2 separate regions of the Homo sapiens genome follow, and region 2 is linked to region 1. The links are contacts of gene promoters, found by promoter capture Hi-C in blood cells and fetal thymus (Javierre and others, 2016). All regions are on one chromosome and are shown on one strand. Each heading gives the region's core, a stretch centred on a gene start or on the middle of the fragment in contact. The rest is flanking DNA. Distances are from core to core; before and after follow the strand shown.

Region 1 (5,559 bases), core at 1,387-3,886:
GTCTGGGTGATATACCCTCTCCTGGAATGAGGGGGTGGAAGAGAGATGGTCTCCCGAAGGCAAGCCAGGATGCTGAAGCAAAAGATAGTGTCATAGATGCTGACAGGGAAAAACAATAGCCTTACTACACTTGTGTAAAGCACTGGACAATAAGAAGCACAGAGTCCAGCCTCGTTCAAGAACAGCTTTGCATGTACTTGCTCCATCCTTACAACAACTGTGTAAGGGAAGTTTTCTAATTATCTCCATTGGACAGATGAGGAGACAGAGGCCCAGGGAGGGTAAATACCTTACCCCAGGCCACACAGCTAGTAAGGGGCAGAACCAGGATCCAGCTGCCTCAGTGAATGGCTAATGGCTGCTGGTTAATGAGGTCACACTCCTGGCCTGTGGCCAAGACTTATCTACAACCAGGGACCCTCGACTCCTCCCTTAGTCTCGGGAGTCCTCAAGGCCCCATCCTGCTTCCTGATCGTTATGAAGTCTGGGGAAAGGGAAACTCGGTGTCCACGCAAACAAGATGCTGTGAATGTTTTCAGCCCAGACAAGGGGAAGGAGATGGCCAGGGGAGGACCTGGTAAACAGAAGCCTGGGGTGGCTCTGTTAGTTTCTTATGAGTGCCCTAATATCCTTGGTTTGTAGCTGCAAAACTCCAATCCTCACTTCCAAGTTCCTCTGGGACTTCCTCTCTGTGTGTCTAATCTACCCATCTACCTCTGCCACACTTTTTTTTTTTTATTTTGAGACAGGGTCTCACTTGGTCACCCAGGCTGGAGTACAGTGGTGCCATCATAGCTCACTGCAGCCTCGAACTTCTGGGCTCAAGAGATCCTCCTGTCTCAGCCTCACAAGTAGCTGGGACCACAGGCACACACCACTGTCCCCCACAGCTTTTTTTCTGAGATGGAGTCGTGCTCTGTTGCCCAAGCTGGAGTACAGTGGCACAATCTCAGCTCACTGCAACCTCTGCTTCCCGGATTCAAGTGATTCTTGTGTCTCAGCCTCCCAAGTAGCGGGGACTACAGGCATACACTACCATGCCCAGCTAATTTTTGTAGTTTTAGTAGAGATGGGGTTAAGCCATATTGGGCAAGCTGGTCTTGAACTCCTGGCCTCAAGTGACCTGCCCACCTTGGACTCCCAAGGTGCTGGGATTAGAGGTGTAAGCCACTATGCCCAGCCTTTTTTTTTTTTTAAACTATTTGTAGAAACAGGGTCTCCCTATGTTGCCCAAGCTGGATCTGCCTTCCTTTTATAAGGATACCTGTCATTGGATTTGAGGTCCACCCAGGTAGTCTAGGATGATTCAATCTTGAGATCCTAAAATTAATTTACACCTGCAAAGATCCTTTCTCCATTAAGGTCACATTCACAGGTGCTGCAGCACATTAGACTGTGGACATATCTTTTCTTTTTTTGGTGGAGGTGTGACTGGGGAGACACTATTAAACCCACTACAGTGTAAAAGTAGGCCAGATGTGATGGTTCACACCTGTAATCCCAAGACTTTGGGAGGCCGAGGTGGGCGGATCACTTGAGGTCAGGAGTTCGAGACCAGCCTGGCCAACATGGCGAAACCTCGTCTCTACTAAAAATACAAAAATTAGCTGGGCGTGGTGGCGCACCTGTAATCCCAGCTAGTCGGAAGGCTGAGGCAGGAGAATCACTTGAACCCAGGAGGCAGAGGTTGCAGCGAGCCGAGAGCGCGCCACTGCATTCCAGCCTGGGCGACAGAGGAAGACTCTATCTAAATATATATATATACATATACATACATATATATATATATATATATATATATATATATATATATATATATATATATATAGCCAAACTTAGCTTTATTTCAGAGCCGTTGCTGGGCCTGGGAGTGGAGAGAGATCAGGAGAGCGCCACCAGCTTGGATCGGTTAGTGAGCTGCGGTGGTTTTTGTTTTTGTTTTTTTTTTCTTGACAGTGTCTCCTATTGTTTTGTATTTCTCTTTTGTTTTGAGGTTTTCTGCCATCTTTTCTGGAAGGTGCATGATGCTCAGCTCTGTGGTTATTTTTGCCCAACAGCTGTGTTTCCGGTGAGCGGCTGTGGGATTCTTCTGACTCAGCAAAACTGGAGCAGTAACCGTCAAGAAGCCATTCAAGCAAGGCTAGAAATAAAGAAGCTGTTTCTTCACCGTCCCCTCCTCCTCCTCTCACTTCCCTCCCCATGGGTACCTTTTGAAAGTCTCACAAAGCACTTTGAAAAAACTACTTGGACCAGTATGCTGGAGGGTTGACTGAAGGTGGCCCCTCCGCTGGGCTTTAAGCAAACAGATAAATTCTGGAAAGGACTCTGCCCTGCCAGCCTGGCTGTGGCCTTCGGAAGGCCCCTCCCAACATGCCCCCACCCGCCGATCACATGGACTGTGTCTTACAAGTTTCCCACAGGTCTGACTAGTGAAAGCAGAGGCTGTGGGGACTTTTGTGGTTTTTCTAGGGTGTGGCCCCACTTTGCCTTCACCAGGCCTGAGTATCTATGCCGTGCAGCTTGCCTGCTTCTCAAAGGTCATGATTTCCACCCTGGGGCTGGGAGGCAGCTACATATTCCTACCCGCTGGCACAGGATCTGGCCCTGCACTCCCGAGAGGTGGCTGCGAGCCTTGCGGAGGCAGAGAGAGAACAAAATGGAAAGGAATCTTCCTCCCGGAGAGCCATCTTCTGTGCATGCCGGTGCCTGCAAAAGACAGGCGAGGCGAGACAGCTGCACCTCGGGCCTCGTCGCTGTTGCTGAGAAAGAAAGGAACAAATAAATTTAGCTCCATCCTACGCATCCTTTGCAGCTGCTGATTGACCAAACAGAAAGAGGCCTCTATTTCAACCCTGGCTTCTCAGCTTTTTGCCTGATGGGGTCTGCTATCGCCCTTTACAAGGGACTTTTGAAGGAGGAAACGGGCCGTGGCCTTATTTAGCGCCTGGCCGGCTGGAGGCTGCACAGACAGGAGTTCAAGTTTAGGGTGTCTCTTCTTGCCCATCCCAAAGCAAAATGGTGGCCCGGAAACGTTTCCAAATGGGCTTCGGCTCCTGGAATTTCCAATGTATTTATTTGGAAGCCAGAACATGGTGGGTGGAGAGATGTGTAACTGTGCCGAGGCCAGCCTATAGCTCCCGAAGCCATTAGTTTAATAGCACCATTTGTGGAAATAAAGAACTCGCTGACTGGGCTTGAAGGTAAAAGACTGGAACGAAGCACTGAGGGGGTTTCGTGGGGCTCACTAGCGTGGAGAGGTCCCTGCGGGATGGGGGACAAGCTGTGTGGACTTTGAGTCAGATAGACTTGGGTTCCAGTCCTAGCTCTATCACCTAAAGGCACGTTGTCTCTGGACAAAGAGAGCCTTTGCTCTGTGATATGTAAGTGAAATGCTAGCTGTGACACTGAACCTCTCTGAGCCTCAGTTCCTTATCTGTAAAACAGCAATGATGACACGAGGTCGTCACAAGGATTAAATGACAAAGAATACTGAACCTACATAGCCCAGCTCTTGCTGTGCCATGATGGTGTAGAGTGGCCCCTGTTTGACCTGCCCAGGCCCATTCTCCAAAGAAGCTGTACAGGTGAGGTGGCTCACCCCTGTAATCCCAGTACTTTGGGAGGCCGAGAAGGGAGGATCACTTGAGCCCAGGAGTTTGAGGCCAGCCTGGGCAACATAGAGAGACCCCATCTCTGCAAAAAAATAAAAAAAATTAGCTGGGTGTGGCGGTGCACGCCTGTGGTCCCAGCTACACAGGAGGCTAAGGTGGGAGGATCCCTTGAGCCCAAGAGGTCCAGGCTGCAGCCTGGGTGACAGAGCAAGACCCTGTCTCTAAAAAAAAAAAAAAAAAAAAAAAATAGAAGGTGTTTCTTCCCCAATCCTCTCCTTTCATTTCCCTCCCCGTGAGTACTATTTGGAAGTCTCACACGGCACTTTTTAAAAACCACTTTAAGTCCGGGTGCAGTGGCTCATGCCTGTAATCCCAGTACTTTGGGAGGCCAGGGTGGGTGGATTACTTGAGATCAGGAGTTCAAAACCAGCCTGGCCAACATGGTGAAGCCTCATCTCTACCAAAAATACAAAAATTAGCGGGACACGGTGGCACATGCCTGTAGTCCCAGCTACTCAGGAGGCTGAGGCAGGAGAATCGCTTGAACCCGGGAGGTGGAGGTTGCAGTGAGCCGAGATTGTACTACTGCCCTCTAGTATGGGTGGCAGAGTGAGACCCTGTCTCAAACAATAACAACACTTTAACCAGTATCCGGGAGGGCTGCTGAAGGTGGCCTCTGCTAGGCTTTACACAAGCAGATGGGTTCTGGAAAGGACTCCACCAAACCAGCCTGGCTTTGCCTTTGGAAGGCCCCTCCCAAGATGCCCCCACTCGCCACTCACATGGACTGGGACTCTGTCTTACAAGTTTCCCACTGGCCTGAGCAGAAGGTGGGAGGAATTTCTGTGGTTTTCTAGGTTGGCCACAGAATACTACTCTTCCTCCTCCCACTCTTTTTTCCGTAAGATTTGGGGCTCAACTTACTCTCAAACTCTGGAAGTGAGGAGGTGGCCCAGGCCTGATCATGGGGTCTCATATGCCCCTGGCCATAGTGATTCATTTCTGGAAACATCCCTGGGACTCAAGCTGGGACAATCAGAGTGAATTTCAGGAATGTTGGATGAATCTCTTAGGAGGGAGGAAATCTTTCTGCTGGATTTCTAAAAGCTCAAGTTTTACACTCAGTGCTGCCATTGGCTCTCTTTGTATAATGGAAGGAAGAGTTGTTCAGAGAATGAAGCTAACAGAGATGAAACCAAAAATGGAGAGATCATATGCTGATGACCATTTGAGCCCCTTGATCCCGCCATGCCTGAAGCCATCACCCCTTCAACTTGCTAGTTATGTGAGTCAATATGGTTCCTTTTTGGTTTGACCTAGTCTGAATTAGGCTTTTGTCTCTTGCAGCTAGAAGAGTCCTAAGTCATACCAGCTTCATAAACCTTTGGAATCTGAATTTACCTGTGGCCTCATCCAGAACTGTGAGGCAGGCCGATGACACTCAGTGCCACCTGCAGTAGTGGAGAGTCTGTGGTGAGACTCTACCTTCTGGCACGCTGATTTCCCTTAGACCCCTCTTGTGGACAGGAAGGCAAAACAATGAGAGAAGGGAAAGAAAAAAGGGGGGAAAAAAAGGGAGCGGGTTTCCTAGTAAAGTAGATTGGGCTTGAATCTCTTCTTTGTCACTCATGAGCTCTGAGACCTTAGGCAAGTGACTAACTCCCTGGGGCCCCCATTTTCTCACCTGTGGGACTTGAGTTGCAGTGAGCATATATGGGTACTAGATTCTAAAGTCAAGGTGAAGGAAAACATTTCCGTGAAAATCCCTTAACTCCGCCCCCTTCCACAAGGTATGGCACAGCCACAAGTCAGCAAATTGTCGTAATGTCAGAGACTTGTGAACAAGAGCAACTCCATCTTGAATAGGAGCTGGGTAAAAAGGGCTGCATTCCCGATGATTAAGACATTCTAAGTCACAGGATGAGATAGGAGGTCAACAAAAGATACA
Region 2 (5,559 bases), core at 1,353-3,852, 61 kb before region 1:
CTGACTTGGCATCTGTTGTATAATAAAGAATTTGACTGGCCTTTACCTCTGGTTTCTAGGAATGAGACTTTAAATCCTTGGAATTTCTCATGTCATAGGAGTGTCTTTGTTCTTCATGAGCCTCTTGGACCACACCTGAGTTAACGCTAAGAGATAAGAAGACTCAGAATGGGGGCTGGTCACCAATAAGACCACTCCATGATGAGAAGAGTTGGAACTTTGAGTCAGCCTGCCCTTTAGGGAAGGAATGGAGATGGAGATTGAGTTCAATCACATGGCAAGTGACTCAATCAATCATGCCTACATAAAGAAATCCAATAAAAACTCTGCACACTGAAGCTAACTGGAGCTTCCTGGTTGGTGAACACATAAATATACCCAGAGGGGCTGTGTACCCCGAATCCATGGGGAGAGGCACGGAAGCCCTGAATTTAGGACCCTCCCAAACCTTGCCCTATGTGTCTCTTCATGTGGCTGGTTCTGATTTGTATCCTTACAATAAAACTGTCAAGTATGGTGCTTTTTTAGGTTCTGTGAGCTGTTCTAATGAATTAGTGAATATAAAGGGGGTTGTGGGAACCTCCCCTAAGCTTTGTAGCCATTTGGTCAGAAGAGCAGGTGGCCTGAGGACCCCACTGTGGCTAGTATTTGAAGTAGGACAGTCTTGTTGGCAACCACGCCCTTAAGATTGTGGAATCTGACACTAACTTCAAATGCCTAGTGTCAGAATCAAATTGCAGTATACTAGTTGGTGTCTGAATAACATTCCTCTTCTCTTTCCAAATGCCTGCCCTGAGGACTTCAGGCTCCAGCATCAGGAGCAAAGACAGCAGCTTTACAGAGACTCCCACAATCATGTAAGGTCAAATCTCTATAACACACACACATATATGTATAAGTGCACAGATATGTATGGTGGCCCAGCCTCTCTGATTGAATGCTGACACATACACATGCCACATCAATTAGAGTCTCTCTGCCTTCTCTACTCAGTGTATTTCTCACTAACTACTCAAGTGCCCTGACCTAGTCATTTATTACACACCTGCCATTTGAGAGTCGCCTGGGCATACAGAGAGGGAATGATGCCATTCAGTTCTACACACGCTGAGTGGTTGAATATTGCAACCATGCTGCAAAGGAAGAACAAACCACTGGCACATCTGGACAGGCTTTGAGGAAATCTAGCATTTCCCTGGCTTTGGAAGCTTAGGGGAGATTTCTATGGGCTGAAGATCAGGTGAGGACTTGGCGGGAACCTTTCCTTTCTGAGAATTTTTCCAATGCTTATGTCCAAACCATACACAACCTGGGGTTGTGTGCAGTTTTCCTCCTTGCTTGTTTGATTTCCCATTTTTTTTTCTTTTTTTGAGGCAGAGTCTCACTCTGTGACCCAGGCTGGAGTGCAGTGATGTGATCTCAGTTCACTGCAACCTCTGTATCCTGGGTTCAAGGGATTCTTGTGTTTCAGACTCCCAAGTAGCTGGGATTACAGGCACGCACCACCATGCCCAGCTAATTTTTGTATTTTTAGTAGAGACAGGGTTTCACCATGTTGGCCAGGCTGGTCTTGAACTCCTGACCTCAGGTGATCCACCCACCTCGACCTCCCAAAGTGCTGGGATTACAGGTGCAAGCCACCATGCTCAGCCTCCATTGCTTTTATGTATCTGTCTCTCCCCACTAAGTTGTCACAGCAGTAATAACAGCTGCCATTGGGAAAGGACCCGCTCTGAGCCCAGCACTTACCACATGTTATCTTTAAAGCTTACAATTCACGTGTTGGCATTATTATTTCCATTTTACAGATGGGAAGACTGAGGCTTATAAAGTCCCCTGTCTTGGGTAGAGGACCATGCAAATGAGTCAGTGGCAGAGCTGGGATTTGAACCCACTTTCTCTCTGGTCTAAAGTCCAGGCTGAGGCCTCCCCTGAGCTCCTTCAGCGTAGGAAGACACCTCTGCCACCCTGCTGTGCAGCAATGCACATGGCAAAAATCGCTGCTCTGTGTATCTGTTGGATTTTCCTCCTCCCCTGTCACCCCTTAACTGGCTCCTTTTCTTGCAGGTGACAAGGAGGCAGCGGGAAGAAAGGCTTTCCTCACTTGCCCCTGCTTTAGGCAGATCACTGGATATTTTTAGCAGCCTAGGAAGCCTCCGAGTAACACGGGCTCAGGTTTTGAACTTGCCTGGTCAGCCCTGCCTCCTGATTCCTCTCGCAAAAGGTTTATGGTGGACTCCCAGCAGCTTTGCTGATGCAGCTAGTAATGTTTATAACCATAATCAAGCACTCCGAGAGCCCCGGCGCTGATTTCTTACCCATCTCTATCCTGTAACAGAGGATTTTTCAATCGAGTAGGTTTGCTTCATTCGTTTTAAAATAGCTCCAGCCCAGCTCTGAGGATCACACGGGGCCTCGCACAGGGATTTGTACTTAGAGTCATGGAAATACATTTATTTTACTTTCCTCTTTCTCTCTCTTTGAGGGATTTTAATACATCACGCAGGAGTATTCCTCACATGGCAGGAAAAAGCCTTGCTTTGCACTGAAGACAAAGAACTGCATGTCGTGTTTACTGATAGAGAAGAGCTCCACTCGGCTTCACCCATGGGCATCTCAGGATTAGATAATTAGGGAGCTCCTTAGTGCTTACCCTGGGGGTGTCAGCTGGAAATCTACTGTCACAATGGTGATCTTCCTGCAATTTAAATGCTGGATGTGGGGTTGGCGGAGGGAAGGCGTGTTAGAGGGGCGTCACCTTGCTAGGTTTAGTGCAGCAGGAAAGAGGCAGCATGTCTTGAATTGACTTGAACCTGATAGACAACATGAGGTCACAACCCACCCCGATTTATCAACAGGACAACTAGCCTGCAGATATCCACTCTAAAGTGCTGGGAGGGACAGGAAAGCCACGCCTAGGTGGACCCTGCCCAGGATGAAAGGGAGAAAACCAGACTGAGCTCAGTGATGACCTAACTTCAGAGGCATCACATTCTCTCATCCTCACTGTCCCACCTTCAGGGAACCTGCAGCCAGGGACCCAGGGCCTTTGAGCCTGCACTGCTGGGCTAAAAATCTAGAAAACCTATTTGTTTCTTTTTTTTAATTCGTATTTTTTAGTTAGAGACAGCGTCTCTCTCTGTTGCCCAGGCGGGAGGGCAGTGGCACAGTCACAGCTCACTGCAGACTTCAACTCCTGGGCTCAAGCAGTCCTCCCACCTTGGCCTCCAAAAGTGCTGGAATTACAAGCATATTTGTTTTTTCCTCTTTTCCTTCCCTTCCCTTTCCTCCTTTCCTTTGTTCCTCCCTTTACTCCCTCCCTTCTTCCTTCCCTCCCTTCCATGGAGGTACTCAGCTTTATTGACCAATCCCTGTTGGGTATTTAGCTTGGTTCCAGTGTTTGGCTTCTACAATTTCTGCTTTAATGAAGAAGCTTGTATGTAGTTATTTTGCATCTGTCCCAGTGTCTCTGTCGGATGAAGTTCTAGGAGTGGAATTGCTTGGAGAAAGAGGGTATCTGTTTCCTGTGGCTGCTGTTAACCAAGGACCACAAACAAAGTGGCCCAAGACAACGCATATTATTCTCTCACAGTCCTGGAGGTCAGAAGTCTAAAAAAAATTTCACTGGGCTAAAATCAAGGTGTGGACAGGGCTGGTTCCTCCCACGGGCTCTAGGGAAGAATCTGTTTCCTCGTCTTTTTCAGCTTCCTTGGCTTGTGGGCCCTGCCTTCATCTTCAAAGGACTTCCCTGTACCTCTGCTCGGTCATTACATCACCTTTCCTCTCTGACCTCCCTCCTCCCTCTTACAAGGACCCCTGTGATGACATCAGACCCACTGGGCCAACCTAGAATGACCCTTCCATGTCAAGATTCTTGCTTTAATCACATTTGCCAGGTCCTTTTTGTCACTTAGGTAACACTCACACATTCCAGGGATTAGAATGTGGACACCATGATTCAGCCTGCCTCAAAGAGTATGCACTTTTATACTTTTGAGAAACTGTAAATTTCACTTCATAGAGTTTGTAACAATTTACCTCCCCGCCATCAATATCTAGGCACCTTCATTTCCCATACTTTACCAATACATCTCTATCAAACCAATTCTTTGCAAATTTAATGATTAAAAAAATCATACTCAGTTTTTTCTTTTCTTTTCTTTTCTTTTCTTTCTTTCTCTTTCTTTTTTTTTGTCTCTATCACCCAGGCTCGAGTACAGTGGCATGATCTCAGCTCACTGCAACCTCCACTTCTAGGTTCAAGTGATTCTCCTGCCTCAGCCTCCCAAGTAGCTGGGATTACAGGCATGCATCACCACATCTGCCTAATTTTTGTATTTTTAGTAGAGATGGAGTTTCACTATGTTGGCCAGGCTGGTCTGGAACTCTTGACCGCAAGCGATCCATCTGCCTCAGACTCTCAGAGTGCTGGGATTACAGGCACGAGCCACCATGCCCTGCCTCAGTGTGATTTTAATGAGCATTTCTCTTATGAGTGAGACTGAGGATGTGTTTACATATTTAAGAGCCATTTGTATTTTATTTTGGGTACACTATCTTTTCACACCGTTTTTCTTTGGGCTGTTGGGCTTTTCCTTCAATTTGTCATTCCTTAGAGGAAAATTTTAGCCCTTTGAGTTGAATTGCTAAGGGTGTTATTACTAACCCCTTTTTATAGATGAAGAAATGGAGGCTCAGAGACCTTAAAGAAGCTGCTCAAGGCTACAGGCTGATGCCTGGCAGAGTTGGGATTGAACCATCCTTGATTTTGAATGTCATCCCTGCTATTGTCTCATAGGCTGGCGGATAAGTATGGATCATTTCTGTCAAACCACACAGTAGGGATAACAATGAACCTCTTAGATTGGACCATACTTTTGCAATTTTCCAGTGGCTTTCATTTTTATTATCTTATTTTTACTCTCCTAGGTCTTATTAGCCCATTTTATACATGGGAAACTGAGGCTCAGAGAGATGTAGGGGCCTGGTCACAGTCACATGACTGATAAATGTGAAAACCTAAGGTCAGAATCTGCCACTAGCCCAGCGCTTTTTTCCATATGCTGTCATAGGGAATGTTGAGGTATTTCACGTACCACTTAAAAATTGTTAACAAGGCCAGGCACAGTGGCTCACACCTGTAATCCCAGCATTTTGGGAGGCCAAGGTGGGTGGATTAATTGAGGTCAGGAGTTCAAGACCAGCCTGGCCAACGTGGTGAAACCCCGTCTCTACTAAAAATACAAAAAAAATTAGTCAGGCGTGGTGGCACACAACTGTAATCCCAGCTACTCAGGAGGCTGAGGCAGGAGAACTGCTGGAACCCAGGAGGAGGAGGGTGCAGTGAGCCGAGATCATACCACTGCACTCCAGTCTGGGCAACACGGCAAGACTATATCTGAAAAAAAAAAAAAAAAAAAAATAGCTGGGTGTGATGGGGGCGCCTGTAATCCCAGCTACTTGGGAGGTTGAGGCAGGAGAATCACTTGAACCCAGGAGACGGAGGTTGCAGTGAGCAGAGATCATGCCACTGCACTCTAGCCTGGGCGACAAAGCAAG

Evidence for each region. The method cuts DNA at HindIII sites, captures the fragments that hold promoters and counts their contacts. A CHiCAGO score of 5 or more calls a contact.
Region 2: a contact is called between a fragment that was not itself captured here and the fragment with the promoter of MAP1LC3B2 in region 1, in 1 of 17 cell types (monocytes). The highest score is 6.1, in monocytes.

Annotation. Positions count from the first base shown.
Region 1 is chr12:116,556,458-116,562,016 of GRCh38, reverse strand. MAP1LC3B2 (microtubule associated protein 1 light chain 3 beta 2) reads right to left here and starts at 2,636. Exons shown (of 2, transcript NM_001085481.3): 1 at 2,584-2,636. RefSeq lists a silencer at 259-553 and enhancers at 259-553, 2,043-2,142, 2,183-2,232, 2,453-2,792, 2,632-3,141. The HindIII fragment of the contact is 18,876 bases long and covers 1-5,559 here.
Region 2 is chr12:116,617,674-116,623,232 of GRCh38, reverse strand. No RefSeq gene overlaps it. Among named protein-coding and RNA genes, the nearest start is that of LINC03088, 41 kb to the left of the region's middle. The HindIII fragment of the contact is 1,666 bases long and covers 1,770-3,435 here.